2 separate regions of the Homo sapiens genome follow, and region 1 is linked to region 2. The links are contacts of gene promoters, found by promoter capture Hi-C in human tissues and cell types (Jung and others, 2019). All regions are on one chromosome and are shown on one strand. Each heading gives the region's core, a stretch centred on a gene start or on the middle of the fragment in contact. The rest is flanking DNA. Distances are from core to core; before and after follow the strand shown. Region 1 has its middle 45 kb from the start of LINC01000. Region 2 holds the start of OPN1SW (opsin 1, short wave sensitive).

Region 1 (4,008 bases), core at 1,104-3,603, 180 kb after region 2:
TTCTGAATTGTATTTTAAAATACTTTGGCATAAAAAAAGGAAACTACCTTTTTAAAAAATCAAGTTTTGAAGAACATCTGCATAATGTTAAAAGACACAAGTTTTAAGGAAACAACAGACTTGCCATTAAGGGAAAAAAAGATCCAGTAGACCTTGACGACTAGAACTGTTACAATCTAAACTAATTCAATGTCTCTTTTCTTTTCAGTGAGTCCAATAAAATCATTTGGTTTTGCAATGCCCAACAATGAAACAATCATAATATTGTACATGTTCCTTGTTTTCAAGTCTTAGAATAATTTACAAAGCAGAAAAGACTCAATTGTAGTTAAAATAACAAACTAAATATCAAACACTCATACTGTAACAATAACTAAACAACTGAAAAAGAAAGAAAGACTGGGTGAAAGTTATGTTAAATTTGTCCTTCACAACAAGGAGTAAATAGATCTTACTTAAAGTTGATTAAATAAGGCCAGGTACAGTGGCTCAAGCCTGTAATCCCCACACTTTGAGAGGCCAAGGCAGGAGGATGGTTCAAGACCAGCCTAGGCAACACAGTGGGACCCTGTCTCCACCAACAAACAAATCAATCAATAAATAAGATTAAATAAGGAACACATTATTTGACATTAAAATGGTAATCCTTAGAAAATCCAAAACACAAACTGTTAACAGTAGTTATCTCTCTGAGAAATCCAAGGGAAGAATTTTACTCTTCTCCATCTCCTCAATTTCTTGCGGGTCACGTACATGTTCTATTTTCATAATTTAGGAAACTATTTGCTTATGATTTTCCCTGACAACATTCTCACCAATAGAAGAGGAAATGACCTTTTTCTAATCCCTCTACATCTCCCTTCTTCCTGGATCTTTATGTATGTTGTAATGTCATAAAGTTAAAAGTGAGAGGTCAGCTCAGATATCTTATTCTCTAGCCTGATATATATTGTCTTTGTACAAACAGATAGTCTTCATACTGGGAGCTAGTGTGGTGGTATAGAATGAGCACTAGACTGTGAGGCCAAATACTAATTTTTTTTTTCTTTGAGACTGAGTCTCACTTTGTCACCCAGGCTGGAGTGCAGTGGTGCAATCTCTAGTTGCAGCTACTGTGGTGCAATCTCTAGTTGCAGCTACTCTGGAAACTGAGGCAAGAGAATTGCTTGAACCCAGAAGTTCCAAGGCTATAGTATGCTATAATGCTATGATTGCACCTGTGAATAGCCACCGTACCCCAGCCTGGGCAACATAGCGAGACCTCTCTCTTAAAAATAAAACCTCAAATTTCCTATGTTAAAACACACAATTATGTAATAATTTTAAACATTTAAAAGATCAAATTCTTAATATTCTGCCACCTATTTTTATCAACACATATTTAGAAACCTTTCATTGGTGTATATACAGCTACCTCACTTCTTTTGTCAGCTGTATAGCATTCCACTGTACAAATGTATTAGAATTCATTTAACCAGTCCCTCTATAAAGAATGCTTTTACTAACTCATGCAACATATAATTACACTGAGTGTCTATTAGAGCAGGTCCCGTTCTGGGCATTGCAGATACACAAGTGAACAAAGTAAAGTCCTTGACCTGATGGAGCTTACATTCCAGTGGGGGGAAGTCAGACAAAAGTCCATCATAGTACGTCAGCTGGTGTAGACTAAGGAGAAAAACAACGCAGGGCCTAGGAGCTCAATAACAGGTGGGGTGGGTGGGGAGAAGTTGCTATTTTATAGTGTAGCCAAGGTAGGCCTCTCTCATAGAGTAAATATAAGCAGAAACCAGAGGGAACTGAGAGAGCGGGGCATGATGATATATGGGTGAAGAATGTTAGGGCAAAGGCAACAGCCAACGCAAAGGCCCCGAGGTGAGAGCATCACTGAGAGAGAGTATTTGAGAAAACAAGGTGGCTAGCGTGCATGGAATCTGATGAGAAAGGGAGATAGTAGTAAAACATGTCAGGGTGGAGGAAAACAAACCATGCAGGGCCACTTTAAGGACTTTTCGACAGGGGAGTGGCATGACTGGACTTATGCTTCAACACAATCACTCTGCTTTGTTAAGAACAGATTAAAAGAAAACAAAGGTCAAAGCAATGGGTCCAGTTATCTCAGTGGGAGACAATGGTTTAAGTTGGAGTGGCAGCAGTGAAGAGAATTAGAAGTGGTAAAATTCTGAACATAGGCCAGATGCAGTGGCTCATGCCTGTAATCCCAGCACTTTGGGAGGCCAAGGCGGGTGGATCACCTGAGGTTAGGAGTTCAAGACCAGCCTGGCCAACATGGTGAAACCCTATCTCTACTAAAAATACAAAAATCAGCTGGGTATGGTGGTACGTGCCTGTAATCCCAGTTACTTGGGAGGCTGAGGCAGGAGAACCGGCTTGAACCTGGGAGGTGGAAGTTGCAGTGAGCCCAGATTGCACCACTGCACTCCAGCCTGGGTAACAAAGCAAGACTCTATCTCAAAAAAAAAAAAAAAAAAAAAAATTCTGAACATATTTTGAAGGTAAAATCAATAAGCTTTACTGATAGATTTGGATTTAGCATATAATATAAAAAGAAGAGAAAGACAAGAATGACTCCAAGGATTTTAGCTGTAAAAATTAGAAGGAGAAAAGTTGACAGTTATTGAGATGTAGAAGGCTGTGGAGGTCAGGCACGGTGGCCCACATCTAAAATCCCAGCACTTTGGTAGGTCAAAGTGGGAGGATTACTTGAGTTCAGGTGTTCAAGAACAGCCTAGGTAATACACTAATACTCTGTCTCTATTTAAAAAAAAAAAAAAGAAAGAAAGAAGAAAGGTGAAAGAAGAAGAAGAGGAAGAGGAGGAGAAGGAGGAGGAGGAGGAGGAGGAGGAGAAAGGCGGCCGTAGGAGAAATGGGTTTCGGGTGGGGAACAGAAGGAAGAGTTCAGTTTTGAACATGTTACATTTGATATGTTTGTTAGACATAAAAAGGAAATGACTGGAGGCAACTGACACAGGCCTGAAATTCAGGGCAGAGCTCTGGGCTGGACGCATAAACTTGGAAATCCTCTGCACATAGGAGTTAAGTTTTAGTAACAAAGGAACTAGATGAGATTAAGAAGGCTGGGTGTGGTGGCTCCCGTCTGTAATCCCAGAACTTTGGGGGAGGCCGAGGCGGGAGGACCACTTGAGGTCAGGAGTTTGAGACCAGCCTGGCCAACATGGCAATACTCTGTCTCTACTAAAAAATCAGCCAGGCGTGGTAGCAGACGCCTGTACTCCCAGCTACTTGGGAGGCTGAGGTGGGGAAATCGCTTGAGCCCAGGAGATGGAGGTTGGAGTGAGCTGAGATTGCACCACTGCACTCCAGCCTGGGCAACAGAGTGAGACCCTGTCTCAATTGAAAAAAAAAAAAAAAAAAAGAGAGAGAGAGGGAGGTTAAGAAGAAAATGAAGGTAGATAAATGAATCTGAAGACAGAGCCCTGGAACACTCTAATGTTCAGAGATAGAGGATGTGAGGAAAAATCAAGAGTGGAAGCCGAGTGAAGACCGTATGCTTAGAGAAGAAAGAAGTGATCAACAGTCGCTAATGAATTACGTCAGATGAGTTCTGATGCGAAGGTCATATCCTCTGAAATACTGGAAGGGAAACTGCTTCCAGATTTTTTGCAACGATAAACAATACCTCAATAAATATCTTTGTGTAATTTTATGGGAATGGAATTTCTGGACCCAAGGATATGTAAACTTAACATTGAGATACATTACCAAGTTGTCCACATGACTTCAACAATTTATAGACAGAATAAAACTGAATGTATCTCTAAACTATCACCTACACCAAGAACTATCAAACTTATTAATCCTTGCCAATTTGCTAGGTCAAAAATGTTATCTTGTTTTATTTTGCACTTCTCTATGGCCAAAATTGAGTGGTATTTCATGTTATTAGCCGCTTGCCTTCTTTTCAAAAACAGTCTTTGCCTACTTTTCTAGGAATCTGCTTTCCTTTGCTGATTTACACTTGTATAT
Region 2 (4,150 bases), core at 1,216-3,715:
GACTCACAGGATATTTAGATGTATATTGCTTATTCATAAGTGTTTGGGGGATTTTCCAGATATCTTTTTGTTATTGATCTATCTGTAAGTTCACTGATCCTTTCTTCTGCTGTCCAATCTGCTGTTCAGCCATCTAGTAAATTCTTCATTTGACATGTTGTAGTTTTCAGTTCTGGAATTTCCATTTGGCTATTTTATTTTTCCCATTCTTCTGCTGAGATCCATTAACTCACGATGATCATTTTTTTCCTTCCAGTTCTTGAATATATTTATATCGCTGTTTGAAGTTTTTCCTGCTGGTGCCAACTTCTTGGGTCATCTCAGGTTCTGTTTCTATTGCTTGCTTTTTCTTTTGGCTATGACTCATATTTTCCTGTGGGTTTTTTTTTTCTTTCACACGCCTTTTAATTTTTCATTGTATATTAGACATTGTAGATAGTGAACTTTAGAAACTGGGTTATCTTCCATTGAGGGGTGTTGATTTTTGTTCTAATAAGCAATTAACTTACTAGTTGATCACCTTGAACCCGCTGAGGCTTGGTTTTATCTTTTGCTAGTATGAGTCAGCTTTGGCTTTGACCTTACTCTCAGAACAAATATTTAGTCCTGGGATATAGATTTTAGCTCTATGGTGTGGCCTTTTGGGAGTTTCAAGTAGAAAGCCCTAAGTGTTTACCCAGACCCTCTGACTTGGGATTCAAATTCAAACTCTTTCTCTGCTACAGTGGGTAACAGTCAAAATCTGCTTAGCTCTTTCAGACCTCCAGTGGTTGTCTTTTACTGGGCTCTTGGAAATTCCTCCATCCACAGTTCAGCAGTCAGCCTATGATTTGAGGGGAGTTTATATGCAGATTTAAAGACTTTGCCTTCTGTGGCTTCTTTCATTCCAGGAAATCCACCTTCAGCTGTTCTGGAGTCCCAAACTGTCCTCTGTCTCCTGTCCTCTGTCCTCTGACTCTTCAAGCCAAAAAAGGCTGGGGCTTTCTGCTCAAGTTCTAGCTATCCTGTGCCATTTATACTCGGGAGTACACTCAGGGAAAAAAAAAAACAACAATGTAGATGGTTCTTTTCATTGAAGAGTTGAGTTCCTTTCAGTTTCTGCCTGCTTTGGATACTTTAGGTGTTTTCAAAAAGTTGTTTTTCATATTGTGTCCAGTTTACAATTTTTTTGCCTAAGGGGGCATTCATCTAATAAACTATTCTGCCATTACTGGACCATCCTTTCACTTTTAAACTTACTTATACCTAAAGTGTGTCACTTTTAACTCATCTATATATATAGTCTCGCTCTGTCCCACAGGCTGGAGTGCAGTGGCGTGATCTCGGCTCACTGCAGGCTCCGCCTCCCGGGTTCACGCCATTCTCCTGCCTCAGCCTCCCAAGTAGCTGGGACTACAGGCGCCCACCACCACACCCAGCTAATTTTTTGTATTTTTAGTAGAGACGGGGTTTCACCGTTAGCCAGGATGGTCTCGATCTCCTGACCTTGTGATCCACCCATCTCAGCCTCCCAAAGTGCTGGGATTACAGGCTTGAGCCACCACGCCCGGCCAACTCATCTATATATTTATGATCTGCTGAGGTGGAAAAGATTCATTCATAAAGCCTAAAGTGTAGTACTGAGTACAAGTGCAGGTGGAACTTAAAGCAGAGTTGGTGTCACTGGGGTGGGCTGCACAGAAGAGGTGTTTGTGAGGTAGGCTGTGAGGGCTAGATAAGACTTCAATGAACAGACAGGAGGAAGACTGTGGCGACTTGTTGAGCTAAGGGTAGGGGTAGGCATGAACATGGCGTAAGGACAGTGAACAGACCCACCTCCCTGGCTGGAGGTCTGAGTAGGAAAGGCACACTCTTTGAGTAGATTCAACACAAAGAAATGGAGGCAGCCTGGCTCAGGGATGCCCTAGACCTCTAGGCATTGTCAAGTTGCCTAAGTCCTGTTCCATCAAGGCTGTTTACTGATGTGCTTCCAGGGCACTCCCCACTCCCAGCCCTTTCCTGCAGCCCAGGGCTGGTTCCTAGCCTCTCAGCAGACTTAAGATGGGCACCTTCCACAAAGGGGCAGATGAGTTGAGGAAAACTTAACTGATACAGTTGTGCCAGAAGCCAAAATAAGAGGCGTGCCCTTTCTATAGCCCCATTAAAAGAACAAAAAAGTGGAAGCATCTTCAGTGAATATGGGTCAGCACCTCCCAGACCTCAGGGAGTCCACTTCTGTTCATCCCAGCACCCAGCATTGCATATCCAGATTATTTGAGCCCAATCTCTTATCCTCTGAAGAACACAATCGGCTTTGGGGCCACAAAAGGTTTAGGTAGTGGTTTAGGGATTTCTAATCCCAAACTTTGTCCTTGGGAGGTTTAGGATTAGTATTGATCATTCACAGAGCCCAAGTGTTTTTAGAGGAGGGGTTTTGTGGGGTGGGAGGATCACCTATAAGAGGACTCAGAGGGGGGTGTGGGGCATCCATGAGAAAAATGTCGGAGGAAGAGTTTTATCTGTTCAAAAATATCTCTTCAGTGGGGCCGTGGGATGGGCCTCAGTACCACATTGCCCCTGTCTGGGCCTTCTACCTCCAGGCAGCTTTCATGGGCACTGTCTTCCTTATAGGGTTCCCACTCAATGCCATGGTGCTGGTGGCCACACTGCGCTACAAAAAGTTGCGGCAGCCCCTCAACTACATTCTGGTCAACGTGTCCTTCGGAGGCTTCCTCCTCTGCATCTTCTCTGTCTTCCCTGTCTTCGTCGCCAGCTGTAACGGATACTTCGTCTTCGGTCGCCATGTTTGTGCTTTGGAGGGCTTCCTGGGCACTGTAGCAGGTACTGCAGGGGAAAAAGGGGTTAGGGGAAGGCAAAGGTTGCTACTCCACTGGAGGGGGTTCCTAAAGAGGAGTCTGGGGGAAATGAGTCTGGTGCTTTTTAAAATACTGGGGTACAAAGCAACCCAGACTAGAAGTTTGGCTAAAATAGGATGTTTGAGTCTTCACTCCAAATGTCAGTCCAGCCCTGTCTCTCTGTGCTTGCTCCACCCGATCTGTTTGCCACTCTGCCAGCCAGGCTGGGTGGGGCTCTGTCTAGCCCATTATCCTCACATTTCACCACAGGTCTGGTTACAGGATGGTCACTGGCCTTCCTGGCCTTTGAGCGCTACATTGTCATCTGTAAGCCCTTCGGCAACTTCCGCTTCAGCTCCAAGCATGCACTGACGGTGGTCCTGGCTACCTGGACCATTGGTATTGGCGTCTCCATCCCACCCTTCTTTGGCTGGAGCCGGTGAGAGTGCAGGGCAGTGGTGCTGAGTTAACTAGGAGCTCAGGTTGATGTGGGTGGAAAGAGAGCTTGGGTATAACTATTTAGTCTTTGACCTCTACTTTTAAAGAGTTGCAATATGAGGCGAAAGGGCAGTGGGAGACAAGTGCTAACGTTTACTCTGCAGTTGGAATTGCTGTAGCTTCTCCCAGTCAGGACAGAAAACCCCCCTGCTTGAAGCCTTAGGGCATTCCGTGGGTTCTAAGTGGAGAACACAATCCAGGCATCTCAGCTCCCACTGCACTCTTGTGGAGAGTCCAGTGAGCAAGTGTTTGGTCCTTTGCAGGTTCATCCCTGAGGGCCTGCAGTGTTCCTGTGGCCCTGACTGGTACACCGTGGGCACCAAATACCGCAGCGAGTCCTATACGTGGTTCCTCTTCATCTTCTGCTTCATTGTGCCTCTCTCCCTCATCTGCTTCTCCTACACTCAGCTGCTGAGGGCCCTGAAAGCTGTGAGTGGCATTTGATAGTCAGGGAAGAAGGGGTTCGGGGCTCCACATGAGAAGGAAGAGTGCTCTGAAACATAAGATGCCTGGAAATGTCCATAGCCAGAGAGGGTATCTAAAAGCAGCAAAGGAAGTAGGAGGAGGGAGAATGATGGAGATCCAAAGGAACTAGGCCAGGAGATGGGACAGAAAAGAGGCAATCAGAGTGGATGCCCCCTCCCCCATCCCACAGAAAAGCATCCAGAGACCGGGCGCAGTGGCTCACGCCTATAATCCCAGCACTTTGGGAGGCCGAAGCAGACGGATCACCTGAGGTCAATAGTTCCAGACCAGCCTGGCCTACATGGCAAAATGCTAAAATGCGAAAATTAGCTGGGCATGGTGGTGTGTGCTTG

Evidence for each region. The method cuts DNA at HindIII sites, captures the fragments that hold promoters and counts their contacts. A contact is called where the count stands out against the background at its distance.
Region 1: a fragment that was not itself captured here is called in contact with the fragment with the promoter of OPN1SW in region 2 in 3 of the 25 tissues and cell types used here (adrenal gland, dorsolateral prefrontal cortex and stomach).

What each region holds. Positions count from the first base shown.
Region 1 is chr7:128,594,544-128,598,551 of GRCh38, reverse strand. No RefSeq gene overlaps it. Among named protein-coding and RNA genes, the nearest start is that of LINC01000, 45 kb to the left of the region's middle. RefSeq lists a silencer at 123-286. The HindIII fragment of the contact is 6,994 bases long and covers 1-4,008 here.
Region 2 is chr7:128,774,109-128,778,258 of GRCh38, reverse strand. It overlaps OPN1SW (opsin 1, short wave sensitive), which reads left to right and starts at 2,465. Exons shown (of 5, transcript NM_001385125.1): 1 at 2,465-2,820; 2 at 3,105-3,273; 3 at 3,596-3,761. The coding sequence starts at 2,478. RefSeq lists cis regulatory regions at 1,999-2,468, 1,369-2,468, 1-2,468, 1-2,468, 1,477-2,471 and 1 more. The HindIII fragment of the contact is 13,114 bases long and covers 1-4,150 here.